Regions from separate parts of the Homo sapiens genome. Here region 2 is linked to region 1. Evidence: promoter capture Hi-C in 16 types of primary human blood cells and fetal thymus (Javierre and others, 2016). All regions are on one chromosome and are shown on one strand. Each heading gives the region's core, a stretch centred on a gene start or on the middle of the fragment in contact. The rest is flanking DNA. Distances are from core to core; before and after follow the strand shown. Region 1 holds the start of DNAH1 (dynein axonemal heavy chain 1). Region 2 overlaps TLR9 (toll like receptor 9).

The links. Contacts are between HindIII fragments. The CHiCAGO score rates a contact against its expected background, and 5 or more counts as called.
Region 2: a contact is called between a fragment that was not itself captured here and the fragment with the promoter of DNAH1 in region 1, in 1 of 17 cell types (naive CD4 T cells). The highest score is 5.1, in naive CD4 T cells.

What each region holds. Positions count from the first base shown.
Region 1 is chr3:52,314,561-52,318,569 of GRCh38, reverse strand. DNAH1 (dynein axonemal heavy chain 1) reads right to left here and starts at 2,251. Exons shown (of 78, transcript NM_015512.5): 1 at 2,025-2,251. RefSeq lists a silencer at 631-860 and an enhancer at 799-1,737. The HindIII fragment of the contact is 17,475 bases long and covers 1-4,009 here.
Region 2 is chr3:52,217,409-52,221,417 of GRCh38, reverse strand. TLR9 (toll like receptor 9) reads left to right here. Exons shown (of 2, transcript NM_017442.4): 2 at 1-338. The coding sequence ends at 201. Among named protein-coding and RNA genes, the nearest start is that of TLR9, 6.2 kb to the left of the region's middle. The HindIII fragment of the contact is 7,973 bases long and covers 1-4,009 here.

The sequences.
Region 1 (4,009 bases), core at 1,002-3,501:
GGTGCCTAGAAAGTACTTGCTGAATGATTGTGTGAACAAATGAACTAATGGATGGGCAAGGTGGAGAAAGGAATGAAGTTGACCTCTGTAACAACTCTGGTAGGGATCTGGAGAAGGATTGGGTAGCTGATGGGACTGCCACGTGCTCAGCATGGGGATGGGGCCCAAAAACTGGTCTGGCAAGTACAGGACTTCACTGCAAGGCTGTTTGAAGTGCACCTCCAGGCCGGGCGCAGTGGCTCACGCCTGTAATCCAAACACTTGGGCCCAGGCGGGCGGATCACCCGAGGTCAGGAGTTTAAGACCAGCTTGGTCAACAGGGTGAAACCCCGTCTCTACAAAAACACAAAAATTAGCCGGCATGATGGCGGGTGCGTATAATCCCAGCTATTCAGGAGGCTGAGGCTGGAGAATCGCTTGAACCCGGGAGGTGGAGGTTGCAGTGAGCCGAGATCGCGCCATTGCACTCCAGCCTGGGCGACAGAGCGAGACTCCGTCTCAAAAATAATAAAATAAAGTGCACCTCCCTTCTTTCCCCCTGGCCAAGGCTCAGCAACCAGACTCCTGGGAGACCCCATTCCCCACCCTCGTCCACTCGCCCTCCGCGCCTTTTCGAGGTCCCGCTGCCCGCGCTGGCCCCGCAACCCCTCCGCCTCACCGACGTACCGGTTCCACCGAGCAGTGCGGGGATGCATCAGCCCCGTCTCTAGGGAGGGACGCTAGGCCGTTGCTAAGGGGCGGGGCCATCCGGCACCGCAGGGCGGGAGCTTCCGTCCGCGAACCTCCCCAGCCTGAACCCTTACCTACCCACCAACTCCAGGTCTCGGTTACTTCCGCCCAGGACAGTGGGACTGGGATGTTCCAGCATATGCCCCGATCGGCAGGATTAGGGCCGACCAGGGAGCGTCACTCTTCTAGGCTCCATTACCCACCCATCTTCCCTCCTGTGCCCTTTTAGAGTAAGCAGCGAAACAGCTAAATGCAGCGTGAGAACTTTGATTAAATCCTGATTTAAATACATATACATATGTAAATAATTTGGGGAGGAATAATTGAAGAAATTTACGAACTGGAAGTTGGCATTTAAGCCACAGCTGCGGGACAGCTGGTCAGGGCACTGAGGAAAAGGTGGGTTCTGGTTCTCCTGGGGCTTGGCTCACAAAGCCACACCCACCCATTGCACGGTGACTCCACTCAGGCCGCCGCTTCCGCTGGGCAGCGGATGCGCCCGACACCCCTCGGCTCGGGCGCCCACCCTCTGATGCCCCTCATCTGCTCTCAGCACCTGGCATGGGTTCAGGTTTTGATCTTCCTGCCCTATTCTGAATATTGAATTATTGTTAATTTTCTTAGATGTGATAATGCTACTGTGGTTGTATCAGACTGTCCTTAGTTGACGTGGCCTGAAGTGTTTGAAGAAACACGTCAGAATGTCCGCTACAATTTCCTTTCAAATGGTTCAGCAAAAATTATACATATAGGTAAGCATAGCTAGATAAAAAGACAAAGAGGAGATAAAGCAAAAGTGCTGCAATATAACAATTAGGGAATCTGAAGGTCACAGATGTCCATGTACTAGTCTTCCAATTTTTTCTGTAAGGGAAAGAAGTGGTTTACAAACCAAAAGAACCAAAAGAAAAACATCACCCCATCTGTACCTGAGAACCCCTGCCCACAGCCTTCTCAAAACTGGCCCCATTTCACAGATGGGGAAACAGACTTGCTGAGACGGTTAGTACTAGGGGAGGTCATAGGCCCTGATGTTGAATTTTACTTGGCATTTTAGTCGTGCTGGCTTGGTGCCAGGCCTGTTGCTGGGCACTAAGTGTCTGGAACTGAACTGGACCCTATCCCCACCATAAAGTGTATTGAGTGGGAAAGATGGAGAGGCCAGGCCATGAGGAACCTAGAGGCAGGGTGTAATCTATGCCTGGAGACAGTGGTTCAGCCCTTGCACAGGCTTCTGCTTCCTCTGTCTAGAACCTGTCTCCATCCACTCCTGCATCTGGCGGACTCCTACTCACCCTTCAAGACCTGATGGTGGTGCAACCTTTCCTGAATCCAAACTGTGGTTTTATTTTTCTTGTTGGCATTCACACAGGTACTCAGTGATCACTGCAGAAGGAAGAAAGGACTGTGAGGGGAACTGGAGGCAAGGTGTCCACAGCTCTTAGAAGGGACAAGGACTCCATAGCCCTGTTTAGGGCAGTCTGGCTGCTCAATGGGTCTGCGTATAGGTTGGGTACCCCCCTTGGCCTGTAGAGAGGCACCTGCTTCCCTGCTTTTGCCTGGCACTTCCCACACTAGGTACAGCTGTCCAAAAAGCTGCAGCATCTATCCGGGTTGCCATGGCAACATCAGCCTATGGTGGGATGTCAGGGATGAGAGGGGCAGAATGCTAATCCTGGAAAGTTGCCAAGCAACACAGTGGGCTGGTGACATCACAGGGGCTGTGGCTGCTGGACAGATGGACAGGCCACAGCTGAAAGGGTCCACTCTCAGGAGGCCCAGCTCACAGAACCACTCACTGCTTACCATGTGATGGTCACTGCTGTTTCTCCCAACTGGAGAATGGACTTGAGGGGTGGGGGTCGGGGGTGCTGCTTTTACCAGCAGCCCTGCCAGCTCCACTTCGCCCCTCTTCAAGGGCGGGCTGTGGATATGACTGCCTCCCTCCTCCCTGGAAGGACACCGTGAGTCAGTCCCTGTTCTCCTGGGTCTCAGGGGCTACCCTCTAATGTGCTGTCTTCTCCCATGGCTGCGCAAGGGTTCAGGCTTTGGTCTTCCTGCCCTGTCCTGAAGGCCACCATACTTACCTTGCTCCCTGGGAAAGGAGCAGGGGGCTGAGCCATGACCCACTGGACTCCTGCCCCTCTTGTGATGGGAGGGCCATCTTTTGCCCTGAATAAGCTGGAAGAGAGGTCAGCCTTACCCTTGTTGAAATGGGAGGACTAGGTTTCTACAAGAGTTGGGGAGTCACTGCCCATCTCTTACTCAGATCCCCCTTGCTGAGGACTCTGGTGGCCTGGAAGCTGGGGGATTGGGGCAGATGGGCTGCTTAGGATGCCCTGGCCCAGGGCCATGCCTTTCCAGCATGGAGTCTGAGGTCATGGCAAGTCTGCACACCCCCTCCCCTGTGTCTCCTTGCTGGCTGAGATGGGAGCAATGCTTCACTGGCTGCAGAGATGAAAGCCCCTTGTGAATGGGCAGCAGAATGGGCCCTTCATGTGGCTGGCCAGCCAGAACGGAAGGTGACAGGCATCCAGACTGAGTGGCTGAGCTACCCGCTCCCCACCTGTCCCCAGCCTCCCTCTTGGGCCCCCAGGATCTTCCTCTGATTTTCTAGGCCTGGAGCTCTGAGCTATGCCACAAGAAAGTGAGTTGCAGGCATCGGGGGCGGGGGGTGTCAGAGAAGGGAATGGGTGAGGTCTACGATTCACTGCCTCCCCAGGCCTCCCCGACATAAGCCTCCCTGCCATTGCTCAGCTGCCCTCAGCAGTTCTGACCAGCATAATCATTTCTTTGATGAATAAAAATGGAGAAAATTTAATTCTCCTTTGATCCACATGATCACCTTGACAGACAAGACCTTGAAAGCCCAGAGCTCAAGCAAGGAGTAGAACAGAGTTTCTCCGGGGCTGGTGGACTGAAGACCACTGGCCCATGAACAGACAATCTTCATCCATCACAGCCCCCACCTAATCCCCTGCCCACCTTTACTCCTGTGCAGCCTCCCTGCCGGAGCCTCTTCCCTCTTTGTTTTTCTATGATCTTCCATGCCATCTTGGGCTACTTCTCAGGACACACTCCCTGAGTGCCTTGGCCAACAGAACACACACTCTCCTCAGGGCCCCAGAGGACCATGGTCAGTACCACTTGGTAGATGACTCACTCCCTACCATGTGATGGTCACTGCTGTTTCTCCCAACTGGAGGGTGGACTTGATGGATGGGGTCAGGGGGTGCTGGGGCAGAGGCACAGCTTTTCTCAGCAGCCCTGCCCATGCGTC
Region 2 (4,009 bases), core at 856-3,355, 97 kb after region 1:
GTGCTGGTGATCCTGAGCCCTGACGGCCGCCGCTCCCGCTACGTGCGGCTGCGCCAGCGCCTCTGCCGCCAGAGTGTCCTCCTCTGGCCCCACCAGCCCAGTGGTCAGCGCAGCTTCTGGGCCCAGCTGGGCATGGCCCTGACCAGGGACAACCACCACTTCTATAACCGGAACTTCTGCCAGGGACCCACGGCCGAATAGCCGTGAGCCGGAATCCTGCACGGTGCCACCTCCACACTCACCTCACCTCTGCCTGCCTGGTCTGACCCTCCCCTGCTCGCCTCCCTCACCCCACACCTGACACAGAGCAGGCACTCAATAAATGCTACCGAAGGCTAGATGGCTAACTCTGAGCTCACTGGAGGCATGGACAGGAGGAGGGAAGGGAGAATTCTCCAGGCCTCCACGAAGCAGCTTAGGGAAAATTGCCATAAAGACGGGACAGAGGTCTGCAGGGGAGGAAGCTGCTAAGCTCTGTTCTCTGGGGAGTCTGATGATGGTCACTGGATGTGGTCTTGGTCCTTCCCAGAGAGTAGGGGCCTCTTTTAGCCCCTCCCAGAATGCCCTGCCCTACCTTTCCCATGCAGAACCGGGCAGCACCTGACAGACTTGGCAGCACCCCTTTGTTGTGTATGGGTCTCAGGTTGTCTGTCTCCCTCGCCTACTGGACTGGAATGCCTTGAGGGCAGAGAAGCTGCAGGCTTGGTTCCTTTCTGGCGCTCAGCAAAGTCTTGAGTGGCAGCAGCTATGGGGACTGTTCATTCCAAAACGGTAGAATGAATTGCAGCAAAGGTGGAGGGGTGATTGCGCCCTCTGGTGGCCATGCCTGTGCCAAGCGGAGAAGGCTGGTTCAGGGTCGGGAGGGGAAGGCCTGTGGGTGCATCCCTGCAGCAGGGAGCTGGGAGCCACAGACAGGAGAATCCACTCCTTTCTCTTTCCACCTACAGGTGCTTGCTGGGTCTCTCCATTCTGATATTAAAGGGACACCTAGGCAAGCCACCTCCCTCCCTCCCTCCCTCCTTCCCTCTCTCCCTCCCTCCCTCCGTCCCTCCCTCCTTCCTCCCTCCCTCCCTCCTTCCTTCCTTTCTCTCTCTCTCTCTCTCTCTCTCTCTCTTCTTTCTTTCTGAGACAAGGTCTCACTCTGTCACCCAGGCTGGAGTGCAGTGGCATGAACACTGCAGCCTTGACCTCCTGGGCTCAAGCGATCCTCCCACCTCAGCCTCCTGAGTAGTTAGGACCACAGGGGTGCACCACCATACTCAGCGAATTTTTTATTTTTTTGTAGAAACAGGATCTCACTATGTTGCCTAGGCTGGTCTCAGACTCTTGGATGCAAGTGATCCTCCCGCCTCAGCCCCACAAAATGCTGGGATTATAGGCGTGAGCCACCAAGCCTGACCTTTTTTTTTTTTTTTTTTTTTGCCACAGTCTTGCTCTGTCACCCAGGCTGGAGTGCAATGCAATGGTGGGATCACAGCTCACTGCAGCCTCAACCTTCTGGGACCAGGTGCTCCATCTCACCCTCCCATGTAGCTGAGACTACAGGCCACACCCAGCTAAATTTTATATTTTTAGTAGAGACCAGGTTTCACCACGTTGCCCAGGCTGGTCTTAAGCTCCTGGGCTCAAGCAATCCTCCTGCCTCGGCCTCCCAAAGTGCTGGGATTACAGGTGTGAGCCACTGCACCCGGCTTCTATATGTGATAGTGTACATTTCAGGATAGAGCTGGGAGCCCCAATGACCAGTGTTTGGAGAGGTCAGGGTCTGTCCTCAGCAGGATCTCCTCCACACTGTGTGTGGAGCCATGAGGAGCGTCAGGCCTGGAGCCCCTGAGGGGCCCTCTCTTGGGCTGGCAGCCTACACCATTACCACAGCCAAAACTGCCCTTTGAGGAGCAGGGGAGAAATATGCAGGCTGACAGGTTGGAGCTGGGGCCCGGTTTGGCCGGTCCAGGCCAGTTTGAGATCTGCTTGTCCACTCAGGGCCTCTGGAGGGGAGAGCTAGAGCTGGCAGCAGACAGCTAACTTGGTGGGCTCATCATGGCAGCCCTTGGAGGGTTGCTTTTGCCCTACTCCCCAGGGCATGGCTGTGGGGGAAGTCTATGCTGCCGTCCTCTTTCTGACTTGGGTACAGGGGCTCCTGTGGTGGGCTGTAGATCCCTGTTATCTGCTCATCTGAAAGAAGGAGGGTCTCTGACCTACCAATCGGAAGCCCTGTGCCCCACGTGGGCTCTGACCCAACCTGTCATCCTTCCTTGGCTGCCTGCAGAGAAAAGAAAACAATAGTCTTTTCCCCCTGGCTGGAGTCTAGGGAAGTCCACTGTTGAGTGGCTCTGAGACTATTCTGGCCACAATCAGGGGCAGGGACAGGAAGCTGGAAACAGAATCCCATTCAGGGAACCATATTTTGCATGTGGGAGGCAAGGCAAACCTGCCTGTCTTGGGATTGCCAGGCCCACCCTCCAGCAGTTCCTGGTGGACCTTCCATCTCCCCACCCCCCACCCACGCTCACAGCCCTGATGCTTTTGGGGCTGGAGATTCAGGAGAGCATTTGGAGAGGAAGCACACGGGCCATGGTAGGGGGCTGTTGGGCTCGGCTCAGGTGAGTCTGGGGGTCTGTGGCACTTGGCTCTGTGCTGTCTACGTGATCAGAGAAGCCGCGCACCACTATCTCAGGTCCTGCAGGAAGTGGTTGGAGCTGGGCCAGGGTGGGGCTGGGTGGGAGGCGGCGCCCTCTGCATTGTAGTCAGGAAGGGTACTCAGAGATGGCTCCAGGTTCTCTCCTCCACACGGCGGCCATCCTTGCCCATCAGCACGGCCAGGAAAGAGACAGGACTCAGGCCAGATTGCCTGGGCTTGCCTGCCAGTTCTGCCATTTGGATTGTCTCAGGCAGGTGACCTCCCCTACTGGAGCCTCAGCTTGCTCGCTCTATAAATGGGAATGAGCAGCGCCACTCTGCAGGACGTTGGAGGGATTCGTACACTATGGGTAAGGGTCTGAAACACTGAGCAGGGCCTCAGTTATTATTAGGTGATGGGATTTACACGCAGGACCCTCAACTGATGTGGCTTCAGTGTTTCTCTCTCCACCCAGTGCCTCCCAGGGCACTGACAGGGTTCAGATGTGGTTGCATCAGAGGCACATGCAGCTGGGACAGTAGCTGTCTCTGGGAGCAGGACCAGGGCTCCTGGGAAAGTCCATGGACCTGGTGTTATCCCCTCGTGTTGGGGAGCAGAGAGTGCTTCCCAGCACAAGGAAGTAGAGGAGCAGGCATGAGACTCAGGCAACCTGATAGAGGAAAACTTCAAGGAGAGGAATGTCTGTTCACTAAGATTTCAAATACAGTTTGCCCTTTTCCCTTTAGGACACCTTATTTAATGCCGTCAGCTTCTAAATATCCTTAGAGAACTTTCATGACATCGTAGTTTCACACTAGAGTTGCTTATAAAAGCCAAACTTCCTTTCTTTTCTTTCTTTTTTTTTTTTTTTGTAAGACGGACTCTCGCTCTGTTACCCAGGCTGGAGTGTAGTGGTGTGATCTTGGTTCACTGCAACCTCCGCTTCCCGGGTTCAAGCGATTCTCCTGCCTCAGCCTCCCAAGTAGCTGGGATTACAAGTGCGCACCATCACGCCTGGCTAATTTATTGTATTTTTAGTAGAGATGGGGTCTCATCATGTTGGCCAGGCTGGTCTCGGACACCTGACCTCAAGTGATCCACCTGCTTTGGCCTCCCAGAGTGTTGGGATTACAGGCGTGAGCCATGGAGCCCGGCCCAAACTTCCATTTTTAAGCAGTTCACGAATCCCGCCTACTTCCTGCAGATCACCCGGTCCTTCGTTCTCATAACCCCAAGAAGCAGGGAGGGGCACATGCACCTGAGGGCCTTGCTTCTGCTGGCTCTGGGTCTTACGAAGGAAGAGTGGATCTTCCTAAGCATTCAGGTAGCAACATTACCCCAGCTGGAGGAGAACAATCCCATTTGAAGGAAGGGAGGTGATGGAGTCCT